2 separate regions of the Homo sapiens genome follow, and region 1 is linked to region 2. The links are contacts of gene promoters, found by promoter capture Hi-C in human tissues and cell types (Jung and others, 2019). All regions are on one chromosome and are shown on one strand. The core of a region is centred on a gene start or on the middle of the fragment in contact, and the rest is flanking DNA. Distances in the headings are between cores, read along the strand shown. Region 1 overlaps HECTD2-AS1 (HECTD2 antisense RNA 1). Region 2 holds the start of ANKRD1 (ankyrin repeat domain 1).

Region 1 (7,468 bases), core at 4,747-7,246, 470 kb after region 2:
GCTTTGGAAGCCATTTCCACCATCTTGTTCACTCTGGGGCCACAGACTGTCTTTTTCTGGTCTCTGCTTCCCTGCTTCATCCTCCTTCTACTCTCTGCTTCCCTAGCGTGTGGCCCAGATGGTCAGTCACAATCCTGACTCCACAGCAGTTTTGGGGTCAAGCCTGTAGACAGGAGTTACTTATCATCTTTGAGTTTATTTAATTTTTCAATGGGAGAACTAGATTGTCCAGTCTTGGCCAAAAAAATGGTCTAGCTTTGAGTCATACTGTAATCATCTGTGGCTCAAAGGCAAGATCCTGCCCACTGTCCACTCGGCAGGGCTGTGGTGGGCACCACAAGGAGGAGTATTTCTTCTTCAAGGATGAAAAAAAGAAGAAGAAGAAGAAGAACATTTGAGACAAAGGAAAGAGAAGTCTAAGAAGGTGAAACCATTTGGCCTGAAATCTTGATAAAATAGATGGCCAGGTCACCTACCAAGAGAGGGGACTTGGAGTAAAGCTTAGGAAACTGCAGATATAGGGAAGGTGGAGAAGAGCAGCTCTGGAGAATTTGATATGGGAGAGGCCTAGGAGGCAAAGGACCAGCAAGTGGCTCTGAGGATCTCCAGTGTGCCTGGGAAGATACCTGCTCTAACCAAAGGAGGAAAAGAGAGTCTTGCCAGGGCTCAGGTTCCTAGGGCCCCACAGATCACAAGCATTGGAGAGTCACTTTTTGTTTTCTTTCCACCTTGTGGGAAGTTCTTTGAAAGTTTGGTAAGTGACTGAGCAAATGGGAATTGTGAGAGAGATATTCCAGACAAATTAGGCTTCCAAGGCTAGATAATGAGGGGCTAAGAGTTCTCAGGGACTCAGAGCCTCTGCCCTGGGAAACCAGAGAAAGGAAGCCTGCTTTTCTGTGAAACTGGCCTTCCTCAAGTCATCCAAAGTCAGTGTCTGGGCAGCCTTCCTTCCTCCCTTCTGCTTGGGTGGTAGACCAGTTATCAATTTATTGCCCCTCACCTCCAAATACACTCCTCATTACCTGCTCTGGGATAACACAACTGGACCCTTTAAGCATTTTTCCTTTGCAGCAAACACACTGTTAAGCTTTATCAATGCAGGTGCTGGGGTATGCTGTCAGAGGGGGAGGCTATTCTTCCTAGTTCCAGTGTACTTCCATTTGCTTCTTTTTGCTCCTGCTTTAAAGCTGTGGGCTGTGAAGTGTAGAACACGCAGCGGTGCTCCACTCCAGCCAAGTGCCAGCACACACAGTGCGTGGGCAAACTTGCAGCCTTGGCCTGGAGACCACCTCCCCACAGCCCTCCCAAGGTCATGCATGTGATGTGTGCATATGGTAGTCATCTCCATGCTGTGGGAGTGTGGGTCATTTTTATTTTACTACTATGTATATGTCAGGAACTGAGGTCAAAGAAAAAAGGTGTGAATTCTCAAATTGTAAGAGATAGTCTACTTTCCCCTGTCATTTAGAAATGAAATTTCCCCGATTTAAACTTGCATGTATTAGTAGATTAACTCTCATTATGTAAGTGCATAGAACTATTAAACTGAGATCTTACATTGTTTTGTACTCTGCAAAATATACCGAAATAGAGCAGTCACTTCAAGTCTACTATTTTACTTGCTACCAAGGGCAGTGGCAGCCCACCTGAGAAGGTATTGTACATAAAAACTACATCTTGTATTCTTTTCTCAAAACTTGGGAGGTAGGAGGAAAAAAATGAAAAGGAGAAGAATGAGGAATGCCAGAAAATATGAGTAATTATTTCTGCAAATTAGATGTGTACTTATTCTTTCGGGCTGTTTCATTTTGCCCTTGCAAATGTGTATTCTGCAACCACACAGGATAATTGGTATATACCCTGAATCTCTACCTTACTTGCCCTATTGATATTTTGGTGTTCCATGAGGGAAAGCCCCAGGAAAGAAGGGGGTGGTATATTGGGGAAAGATGTTGCATTTGCAACAGTAATTCTGCTATAATACTTTGTAAGCCCAAACTCTATGCCTTCTTTTCTGTGGATTAGAACTGTTTGTCTATAATGCCAAAGTAATTTATTCCTTGGCATTTAAAAGAAACACCCAAGTAACATAATTTCAATGTGCTAAAATTAATTTCAATTTTCTGGGAAGTGAGAGTGCATATGTGTGTGTGTGATTGTGTACATGTGTATGTACACTTTTTCCAAACCTCTTGGATTGTACTGACACCATTGTTATTTCCTGAGCATGAATAAACCCTCTTCCTTACTCACCCACTCATATTTTGAAACTTGTCAGGATATGAAATAATTTGGTGCACTTTTCATGCTAAAATTATCCTTGGAGGAAGAGTTCTACACACCAAACATTCACCCAAAAAAAGACTCTAAAAATGTAAATGTTTGGTTGTTCATGCCAGTAATCAAGGCTAGAGAATTCAACCCTTCCCAAGTTAGGGAGAGAGAAAGTCTGCTGTGCATCTTGTAGCACAACTGTCACCATCCGGGCTTGGAAGCTCTGTGTTCCTTTATCTCACTACAGTACAGTAATCCCCCTTATCCACGGGGCATACGTTCCAAGACCGCCAGTGGATGCCTGAAACCACAGACAGTCCAGAAACTTATGTGCACTATGTTTGTTCCTATACATACGTATCTGTGATAAAGTTTAGTTTATAACTTAGACACCGTAAGAGATTAATAACAATAGCTAATAATAAAATAGAACAACTCTAACAAGATACCATTAAACAGTTATGTGGATGAGGTCTCTTGCTGTCTTTCAAAATACCTTATTGTACTGCACTCACCTTCTTGTGATGATGTGGGATGATAAAATATGGTGTGCGTGATGCAATGAGATGAAGTGAGGTAAATGACGTAGGCATTGTGACTTAGCATTAGGCTACTACCGACCTTGAACACAAGCACTGTGATTCAGCAACAATCAAGGTAACTACTAAGTGGCAAACAGGTAGGTAACATAGACAGGGTGGATATGCTGGACAAAGGGAGGATTCCCATCAGAGCAGGACAGAACAGGATGGCACAAGATTTTATCACGCTACTCAGAATGGCACACAGTTAAAAACTTATGAATTGGTTATTTCTGAAGTGTTCTATCTAGTATTTTCAGACTAGAGTCGATTTCAGGTCACCGAAACCACATAAAGCAAAGCCAAGGATAGAGGGTGGGGGTATTGTACTGGCATTCTGATTTTTGAGAGCTGTCTTTTCAGCTGAGAAAATGGGGAGTAAGTCCAAGACAGCCTCATCTGCCGAAGAGCAGGTTGCATGGATGGAATGGGCAAAGACAGAGTGAATAAGTATATCATATGGTTAGCTAAGAAACTTTCCCCACTTTTTAAAGGCAGTTTTAATAGTCTGGAACACATATGGTTTTCTTTAGGAAAAAAAATCACAGGAATATCTGCAAATATGAAATAATTGTATAGACACCATAACTCCAAAAACAATTATTGCTTGTCTGATTAGAATTAGAAACACTGCTGATTTAACTCATGATTTTGATTCAGGCCTTAACTGGAGCACGGCTCAGTTACTTCAGTTAGAAGTAACTTAGTTTTTCTAAGAAGCTCCAGTTGCCTGGGCTACAAAGCCCATTCCGTAACACTATGTCCATCATACACATAAATAAATGACCAAAGTGTGATGACCTAGAGACTCATTTGATCACAAATGTGGACTTTTTGTCTTCAGGAAGTTGGGATTTCTCTTCACAGAAAGGTCGACTCCATCCGTTGTCTGCACAGCTCTCTCCCTCACTTGCTCACTTTCATCACCCCCAAAACATGCACCCTTCCTCCCTTCTCCCACCAGAGAAACTCTTACTTATTCTGCCTGATTCCGTTTACCTGCCCACTTTACCTCAAGAGCAGCTTTAATTAGTTGTCCTTACTCCGTGCCCCATTAGTACCTTCTGTTTAGCTGTTCCATGGCATTTATTAAGCTGAATTGTAGCTAGTTTTATCATCTGCCTCTTCTTACCTGACTAGGGGTGGGTGGGGTGTCTGGAGGGCATCTATTGGGTGCTTTAATCCCACCATTTTATTTTGCACAGAGCAGACTCTCAGTAAGTGGTGGGTGAAAGATGTTAAGATACCCTCCCTCCCATGGTTGTGTGAGGATCCAATGCGATGAGACAGATGAGATCAAGTTTCAGATCGTAAGACCCTTCCTAGATGTTAGGTAGTTTTGGCAAAATGGAACACATATAAAATTTGTTTCATTGTACCTATATTTAAGTGGATGTTTGGTATAGCTTAAGCTTGTTTCAGTGATTAAGGGGACTTGGGAAGGTAATTAATCTTTACAGATTACTTTCGCTGTGCCAGGTGCTTTTTATATACTTTTATTAATCCCTCCAGCAATCCTGGAGATAGGTATTAGTATCTCCTTTTTACAGATAAGAAAACTGGAATTCAGATAAACCAAAACACCTTCCAATATCACACAGCGAGTGGCAGAGCCAGGATTTGACCTAAGCTTTGTCTGCCTCCAGAACCCATGTTCGCTTCCCTACAGGATGCTGCCTTTGCAGAGGGAAGGATCTTAAGTCATAGACGATTATTCCGCTCACCCTTTCACTCGTCCCCTATTCCACACACCTGAAAAATATTTATATATCAGAAGAAACTGCCTAAGGTATGCAGCTGAATGGTGGCTGAGCTCAGCATAGTCCAAGAGTCTGCACAGGTGTTGACTGGACTCCCAGAAGCCAGAAATAGTCTCAAGCTTCTTTACAGCACAAAGAAAAGACACTCACCCACAATGTAAGCAAATACAACAAATCAACTGGATTGTGATAGTTAAATAGGTTATGTCTCTGTGAGGTTTTGGTATCAGAATGATGCTGGCCTCCTAGAATGAGTTATGAAGGAATCCCTCCTTTTCGATTTTTTGTAATAGTTTCAGTAGGATTTGGTACCAGCTCTTCTTTATACATCTGGTAGAATTTAGCTGTGAATCCATCTGGTCCAGCAGTTTTTCTGTTTGGTAGGTTTTTTTTTTTTTTACTTACTGATTGAATTTCAGAACTCATTATTAGTCTGTTCAGGGATTCAGTTTCTTCCTGGTTCTATCTTGGGGCGGCGGGGGGTGGGTGTTGTATGTTTCCAGGAATTTATCTATTTCTTCTAGCTTTTCTAGTTTGTGTGCATAGAGGTGTTCATAATAGTCTCTGAGGATTTTTTTTTTATTTCTGTGGGGTCAATGGTAATGTCACCTTTGTCATTTCTAATTGTGTTTATTTGGATCTTTTATTAATCTAGCCAGTGGTCTATCAATCTTATTTATTCTTTCAAAACCCCAACTTTTGGGTTCACTGATCTTTTGTATGGTTTTTCACATCTGAATTTAGTTCAGCTCTGATTTTGGTTTTTTTCTTCTGCTAGCTTTGGGGTTAGTTTGCTCTTGCTTTTCTAGTTCCTCTAGTTGTGATATTAGGTTGTTAATTTGATACCTTTCTGACTTTTTGATGTAGGCATTTAGTGATGAAGGCACTGTACTTCTCTCTCAACACTGCTTTAGCTGTGTCCCAGAGATTCTGATATGTTATATCTCTGTTTTCATTCATTTCAGATAATTTCTTGATGGCTGCCTTAATTTCATTGTTTACCTAAAAGTCATTCAGGAGCAGATTGTTTAATTTCCATGTAATTGTGTGGTTTTCAGCAGTTTCTTAATATTGATTTCTATTTTTATTTTGCTGTGGTCTGAGAGTATGGTTGGTATGATTTCAGTTAGAATTTATTGAGAATTGCTTTGTGGCCAAGTGTGTGGTCTGTGCCATGTGCGGATGAGAACGATGTATGTTCTGTTGTTGTTGGCGGTAGTGTTCTGCAAATGTCTGTTAGGTCCATTTGGTCCAGTGTTGAGTTTGGGTGCCAAATATCTTTTTTAGTTTCCTGCCTCGGTGATCTGTCTGATGCTGTCAGTGGGGTGTTCAAGTCTCCCACACTTACTGTGTAGTTATCTAAGTCCCTTCATAGGTTCCTAAAAATTGTTTATGAATATGGGTGCTCCAATGTCAGGTGCATATATATTTAGGATAGTCAAGTCTTCTTGTTTAATTGAACCCTTTGCCATTATGTAATTCCCTTCTTTGTCTTTTTGATCATTGTTCCTTTAAAGTCTGTTTTTTCTGAAATAAGAAAAGCAACACCGGCTTTCTTTTTTTTTTTTTTTTTTCCTGTTTGCTTGAGAGATCTTTCTCCATCCCTTTACTTTGAGCCTATGGATGTCATTGCATGTGAGATGGGTCTCTTGAAGACAGAATACCTGAAACACTCCTATGCACTTTCCAAGGTGCTGCTGAAGTGTAATGTGTTTGAAAAGCCCTTCTGGATGCACTTAGAGAGAATTAATTATTCCTTCCCCAGAGCACTCATAGACCTTTGTACGTGCTCCTGCTATAGTTCCTTTTCACACGTGCTATGCTGAAATGCATCTTCTGCTAGAATGAGAAATCAACAAGAGTAGGAACTGTTTCTTAATTGTCTCAATATCCTCAGAGCCTACCTACACAGCAGATATTCAATAAATGTTAATAAGATGACTACTGAAAAGATGACTACCTACCTACACAGTTCCTTTTCACACGTGCTATGCTGAAATGCATCTTCTGCTAGAATGAGAAATCAACAAGAGTAGGAACTGTTTCTTAATTGTCTCAATATCCTCAGAGCCTACCTACACAGCAGATATTCAATAAATGTTAATAAGATGACTACCGTACTACCACCACTAGAGGGCAATGTAACCGAGATTACTATACACCACAGGTGCAGTTCCAGATGAATAACGAAAGTAACTTTTTAAAAAATAACATATTTCTCACATATTCTTTGTATTTTTCCATGCATTTTAGTCAATTCGGTATTTAAGTTTGAGGAAACATTCAACAAATGTAAAAAGAACACTTGAAACAGAGGCTAAGTGCCAGAGTGCTAAAGAGCATAAGGATTAATTGCCTGGCCTGGAGAGAAAAAACTACAAAATACAAATGGGATTGGAGATGGGATTCATCTCAGACAGAAAGCAGCTATCCTAATAAATTAGTGCTGTATGTTCTCACATTCTCAGAATGCTCCATCCTCCACGTTAACCACAAGGTGGAATTAAGCATCATTGTATCTAACAAAGAAATGAATTACAAGGAAATAAACATTTATGAGTGCTTGTAATTCAGTAGAATACAAATCGAGTGTAACTTTCAATTTAAGAAGTTTCTGTATATTTATTTCTGGAACATAGCAATTCTACAGCTGGCTTTCCTTCTGTTTAGATTTCAGACCAGTGATGAAACAAGAATTCAAGGAGCAAGTTTCTTTCTTTTTTTTTTTTTTGAGACTGAGTCTCACTCTGTCACTCAGGGTGAAGTGCAGTGGGCAATCTTGGCTCCCTGCAAACTGCCTCCCAGGTTCAAGCGATTGTCCTGCCTCAGCCTCCTGAGTAGCTGGGATTACGG
Region 2 (6,967 bases), core at 465-2,964:
TTTGAGCAAAAACATTTTTTAAAAATTATATAAATCTTTGACTTCATTTTAGGGATTTCTTATTCAGATATTTATCTGGGAGTCTAATTTTCAGCTAATTGCCATCATCTTTACTTCTGTTGCTTGTAGAATCAGCCCTTGACCAATTGAGGACACGATCTGGTCTCTAAGTGATGACTTTGTAATTAATGCCATAAGCAAGTCTTAGATTTTTAAAGGATTTTTAAAATTATGCTCAAAACTTGGTTTAATTTTTGAGCATGATAAAAAGAATCTAACAATAAATGTTAAGCTCTGAAATATCAATGTCATTCTCTTTCACTAAGCAGAGCCTTCTAAAACAGACTGTCCAGGGACCACAGCTAACTAAAGCAAATTTTATCTGTGTTAGTAATTAAGGAAAATTCACCCAGAAACACAGATTGTGTCAACACAGATAGCAGACAGTTAAACAATGATCTATGGACCACAGACCATGTTATTGAGAAAAAGAGATCTCCGTTGCTTGGGATTAACTACATGGTGTGTAACATCAGGAATTCACTGGACATGTGTATCTTTCAATCAAAACATGGTCACAGCACATTTATTCATTGATTCAGAATTCAGAGGTCATAGTCTTGTCAAAGAGTTATTTCCCAAAACCTGTTCCATACAAGTTGCCTCTTTACGGGTTAGAATCTGGTAAAGAGACATCTTAATGATTGGGTTTGTTTCTCTCTTCTCCTTCCCTGACATTTCCATTCCCTACCCCAGCCCCAACATCCTACTAGTGGATTCCACAGATGGCTCTCACCTCTGCCTCTCGTTGTTTCTCGCTTTTCCACTGTTGCTCCCCCAGGGTCACAGGGTGGGCTAGAAGTGTCTTCAGATCCTCCTGCTTCTCTAAAGTAACAGCAGCTTCATACTCTCCATCTCTGAAATCCTCAGGAAGGAATTCCCCTGCCTCCCCATTGCCATTCTTCTTTCCAGTGACCTATGAGGGAAGAAGATGGCAGCGTCAGAAGCAGCAGCCTCGTCCTGGGTCATTCTTCACAGACAATGCCGCAGGAGGCTCTTGGTCCTTCTCCCCTGGGAACAGCCACCTTTGAGCAGTGCACTCTCAGATCTCAAGCTGCGATGCACACTGCTACAATTGTCCCAGAATTACCTTCAGATGCTTGTCCTACTCTCTTGGTTAAATCAAAGCTTGGGTTAGGTTGACAGATTAAATCTACTTTTAATCTGCTTAATCACATTTCTTTTAGGAAAATCAAAAACCTTCTCTGCTTAATTAAAACTCAACTTTAGGTACTTTTGATGAGTTTCGCCTTATTGTAAAGTTTCCGGGCTTACATTCTTTCAATAACACTTCTTCCCTAAGACATTTTGATAACTACACGTGATTCCACACTGTAGTAATAAAACCAAAGGAGAAGATATTAAATAGGAAATATGCAGAGAATTCATTACTGGTAGCTCCATTTTTTTTTTCCAATTTCACTTGTTTCATCACATCAACCTTTTTCCATATATGACATTTTCAGAGTTCCCTTGCATTACACCTGAAAGCAAAGGGCATTTCAATTTTCAAATAAAAACCAAGATGAACCAGTTTTCATTTTATAAAATTAATGCATCTTACATACCAGTTCCTCTACTTTCAGTACCATCATGTTGGCTGAAGGAGTCTTGTATGTTTTTCTGTCGTGGAAGGAATCCCTGGAGTTGGCCCTGCTGGGCCCCTCCACACCGGTCAGCTTATATAGCTGGGGCCGGGTGAGATAATCTTCCAACCTGGGAACCGAAGTAACACTCCCACCCCCATTAGGAGCCAACTCAGAGGCAGGTGAATTTTCATTCCAGACTCAGTGTCTGGGAAGCTGAAGAGGGAGGGGAGGACAAGCTAACCCTGCTGAATATGTGAATCAGGAAGAAATGTGAGAGGGCCATTCCTTTGGTGGTGATCACATCGCTCAGCAATGCAAGTCATCCTATTTGTCAAGAGTCAGGGGACAGCTGTCTGTTGACATTGCACCACATCACTGCCCTTTTTTTCTTTGTCAGCTTTCATATGACTACCTATCAAGAAAATGTAGATGCCCTACATATCACACCCCCAGTAATATCTTTCTGATAAGCAGACTTATCAACACTTCACTTAGGGGAAACTTGTCCCAGGACATCCTATTCCCTGGGTAAACAGCCTGAGGGGAAGGGATCTGGGCCCTAAAGGCACTTGTCTATATCTGTTTGGAATTCTTTGGAGTGATGTCTGGGGCTAAATAGGCCCCATGACATGCCACCTTACCATCATTATAAGAAATTGAAAGCATTCAGTAATGCACTTTTCTTTTATGATGTCACTGGCCATAATTAGCACATGACATGCTTACCGTGTTCTAAAACAGCATAATAATTGGAGCATTTTTACTTCAAAATGGATCAGAGTGGTCAAGAAATAGAGTAAATGAAACCAGCTATCAGCCGGGTGCAGTGGCTTACACCTGTAATCCCAACATTTTGGGAGGCAGAGACAGGAAGATTGCTTAGCTTAGGAGTTCAATACTAGCCTGGGCAACATGGCAAAATCCCATCTCTACCAAAAATACTATATATATATATGAAAAAAATGAGACCAGTTATTAGCAATGGCAGGACTCTGATTAGGTCATTGAGCTGAAGTTCTCAAATGCTGTGGGGAAAGGAATCACCTGTGGGAGCTTGTCAGAAATACAGATCCCTGGGCCCCACTCCAGGGAATTCTGAGTTGATTTATGGTAACTCGTAGGAATCATCTTGAATTTCAAAGCACCCAGATGATTCTGATGCATCAAGATTTGAGACACGTGGCTGGAGGGATAATGCACTTTGCTTCCGGAAGGGTTGAAAAAGGTCTCTATTTCTGGTTTCTAATCTTTGAGGTGTAAATTATGTAAAAATACTGGGGTCTTTTTATAGTTTCAGGAAAAACTGGGTTTTTTTCAGTAAAAGAAAGGAGAGAAGAATGGGAGAAGGGAATTGTGAATGGAGGGAAGTGTTAATTAGGAAGTTATGTTTGACCTTTGTGTGTCTATTTCTCCCCAAACTCACCCAATCAACAAATGTGGCTGCCATTCTCCTCTTCCCCCTTGAATGCTCAGTCAGTGGATGGTGTTTCTGAAACTTTGAGAAGACATCGACTCCCCACCCCAAGACAAAACATTGACAAAGAGGGACCCTCCCAGTACCTCCTGTATCATATGTTCCGGTCTCCTAATATTCTATCTTAAAAGGGGGTTAATTAAAGGAAATCTCCTGGGCTTTTCTTTGAGATGGACACAGCTATCACTATTTTCTTTTTAATTTTTTCCTTTTCTCTTTATTATTTATTTATTTTTAATATATGGAATGTTTCACAAATTTGTGTGTCATTCTTGCACAGAGTCCATGCTAATCTTCTTTGTATAGCTCCTATTTTAGTATATGTCCTGCTGAAGCAAACAGAGTCATTACTATTTTCATTGGTCTCTTCATCTAAGTCAGAAGTAGTCATGGACACTTTTTCTACCATTTCGTATGCCTTTTTGTTCCAGGCCTGACCCAAACTGAGGGAGGTATTAGGAGGAGAAGTGTTTGGGGGAAGGACTGTGGGATGTTTAAGGGTCTTGGATATGAAATCCCAGAGCTGTCCATGCCCTCGAAGTTGGAGCAAGACTAATGCTCTCATTTTACAGAGAGGATGCTGAGGCAAAGAAACATTAAGTAACTTGCTGCAGATGCACAGCTAGTTGGTGAATGCTAGGTTGAAGAGTCCTGATTCCATCCAACAGAAGCAGACAATCATTGAGCCCAAAAGATTTCCTAGGGCAAGTCTCACCTAGACCCACTCAGGATGCAACCAAAACTGATTAAATGGCTCCTTACTGTTTCAATCACCTCAAAGAATGCAAGTGAAAGTGGGCAGGGAGGCTTACCAAGCCCTTTTCTTTCTCCAGGCATTTAATTATCCCTTGAAACCTAGCTGATTCTATAGAGAGGCTCCAGGAAGTCTTGAAGAAAACTTTGCAGAGGATGACACTTGAAGATGAGTTGATGGAATGGGCTGAACTTAAAGGAGCACGCTGGTGGATGCAAGGATGTCAGGGCTGGTGAAATCACTGCCAGTTCAACCTTTTCCCATGTTGATCCAGCTTGTCATTATAAAACATGAGAGGTACAACTTGAGGATAAGTGGTCAGAAGATGTAAAAAGAATATGACAACAAATAAAGAAAAAAAACATGAGAGAATCTGCTTTTTGAAAAGAGATTCTAGGCACCTTTAGCTCTCTAAAAAGATAAAAACAACAACCATTGTATTTTCAAATCGTTCTTATTCATCAAAATTGAGAAAAAAATTCCCCTGGCGGAGAGTTTTCTGTCATTTGTTTTTCAGAAGCATCCTTCCCATAAAAGTTCACCCAGTGGTGTAAATTCTTATATTTGTGTATTTGGCTTTATCATAGCCTCAATCTGGACATAATCTATCCTTACTAAGATGAATTAAAACAATAAAGGTCCTAGTTGGTTCTACAATCATAAAGCAACTTGGCATCACCCATCTCCAACCAGAAAGAGTAAAGGAAGCATCCCTGAGCTTCTCCAGTGTCACCCCATGAGCCTTTTCCCACTCCCCTCAGGATTTATGCATTTCCATGGGTGAAATGACATGTGACTAGAATTAGGACCATGGTTATAGCTGGAGAAAGTGAGAAGCAGAGAAGTAGCACCTAAAGCAATTACTGCTGTCACCTAGGGATTAAAAGAGGCGCTTGGACCCCACCCAGATCCATGTGCCATAGCTCAGCTCCAAGTCCAAGGGCAGTTTTATCTTTCTGTATAAAATATGAAGTTCCAGACGTTCTACTTCTACTCCAACTTTTCATTCTTATATTTTAACTATATAATAGACACATTATTGTTAAAAATAGCACAGAGAATGTTATTTAGTTCAGATCTTACTGTCGATTTGATACTTGATTATTTTTCGCTCAGTAACCGTGTCTTACAGATTGTCTCCTATCTGCACAAACAAATCTATCTTGCTATTAGAAACAACTGCATGAATTTCCATGCACGGACCTACCATTTCTTATTTAACCACTTTCTCATTTGTGGACATGTAGGCTGTTTTTTTAAAATGGGCATTTTTATTTTCTAAAAAGGCATTTTATAGCACATAAAATTTTATTGTTATTAACACTCCTTGTCCTTAGAACACCCAACTTGATACTAAAAGGAAGTGCTCCAAGGACTGTAGCCAGATTCTGACTTGGAAACCTCCTTGTTCCACTGTTGTACTTACAATTGCTCATTTTGCCATCCCTTTTAATAGCCTTCCCAGTCCCAGCTGTTACGCACCTTCCTTGGCCCAGAGAAGTGGCTGACTTAGCCTGACCAGCAAGCCATGGCTCAGTTACGTGTTTGAAAATGCCAAAGGAAGGTCATAAAAGTGAAGCAAATAAGGTTTAATGTTGTTTCCCCTCCCCTGCCAGGAATGGGATAACCTGTATTTGAAAAGCAGAAAAGTACTGGAAACATTTTCAGCAGGATTGTGGCACCTGCCTTCCTTGCCTCTCGAAAGGCAGAATCAAGACTAAAGTCCTTCTGCCCAGGACTCTGGATAGAAAGGGCACAAACTGCCCTAACACAGTTGGGCTGCCCACAGTAGGTTACTTTTTACGGATATCGGTGGCCTCCTGACGTTAGAGGTAGGTGAAGGCTGTAGGTCTCACCTCCACACCTTACAGCAGGTGCCTTGTTACAGTAAATAAGGTATCTCAGTGCAAATTCTGCCACACATATGAACTCACACCAGCCAACAGGCACAAAGGGCCACATGCACTATTCAGTAAACTCATGAAGCCCAGCCCTTTGTCCATTTAGGCCCTTGGACAGTGTCCAGCACAAAAGATTCGCTTGACTAGGCATGGTGGCTCATGCCTGTAACCTCAGCACTTTGCGAGGCCAAGGCAGGAGGATCACTTGACCCTAGGAGTTCGAGACCAGCCTAGACAACATAGCGAGATCCTGGCTCTATGTTTTTTTATTTAAAAAAAAATAAAAGAAAAAGTTTCACTTGAAGCAAATGAAACCACAACCACATTCTGGCAGCATATTTCAGCTAATTTTCTAGTCCACTCAAGGTGATTACAGACTCCTCCACATATGGCCTAACACAAGATAGGATGGAGTCCTAGCACTCACTATAAGCCTAGGACTCCAACTGCATAGAAAAGTGCCTGACACATAGTGGGGCTAAATAAATATTTACCTGAGACCCAGCAGGGCTCATATTCTTTTCTAACCAAACCACATATTTCAAATTCTCCTTTCAATGAGAAATAATTGGTAACATTTCTCATGCTAATTAACCATTAATCTGTCAATACTATCAAAGGTAAAGATAGGTAAAGTACTTGGGATTACCTCCACTGGAGTGGGGGCAGCTCATTAGTGTCTTTCAAATGCTAACTAACCCCAACAGTTGTAATCGCAGAGTCAGGGCTTCTCAGGTGTGAACTAACATTTCTTCAAGCAGTGATTCTCTAAGCTGGGTGCATCTTAGAATCCTCTGTGAAGCTTCTAAAAAAATGCTGATGCCCAGGCTTCAGCTCAGGCACATGAAATCCAAATCTCTGCTCAAAGATCCAAGGAATTGGTATTTTTTAAAGTTTTCCAGTTGATTCTAATTTCCTCCCAGCATTGAGAATACTGCTCGAGGGTGTAGAATTAAATGAATATGTATCTAAATACACGTGTATTTTCTCCAAGTTGTAGTGGACAGTCAAGCTATTGTTATTCTGGTCTCAGAATTTTGATTGTTGAAGACTCTTGCCTATGCTAAGACCATGGGAAACACACACATACAATTTACTCATTTATTTTTTATTTTATTTTATTTTATTTTATTTTATTTTATTTTATTTTATTGTTTTGAGACAGAGGCTTGCTCTGTTGTCCAGGCTG

What was found. The method cuts DNA at HindIII sites, captures the fragments that hold promoters and counts their contacts. A contact is called where the count stands out against the background at its distance.
Region 1: a fragment that was not itself captured here is called in contact with the fragment with the promoter of ANKRD1 in region 2 in 1 of the 25 tissues and cell types used here (bladder).

Annotation. Positions count from the first base shown.
Region 1 is chr10:91,383,060-91,390,527 of GRCh38, forward strand. The region is part of intron 3 of HECTD2-AS1 (HECTD2 antisense RNA 1); the gene reads right to left. Among named protein-coding and RNA genes, the nearest start is that of HECTD2, 24 kb to the right of the region's middle. The HindIII fragment of the contact is 6,638 bases long and covers 2,678-7,468 here.
Region 2 is chr10:90,919,373-90,926,339 of GRCh38, forward strand. ANKRD1 (ankyrin repeat domain 1) reads right to left here and starts at 1,715. Exons shown (of 9, transcript NM_014391.3): 1 at 1,629-1,715; 2 at 797-976. The coding sequence starts at 1,655. It also overlaps the pseudogene RNU6-740P. RefSeq lists an enhancer at 5,918-6,804. The HindIII fragment of the contact is 6,615 bases long and covers 526-6,967 here.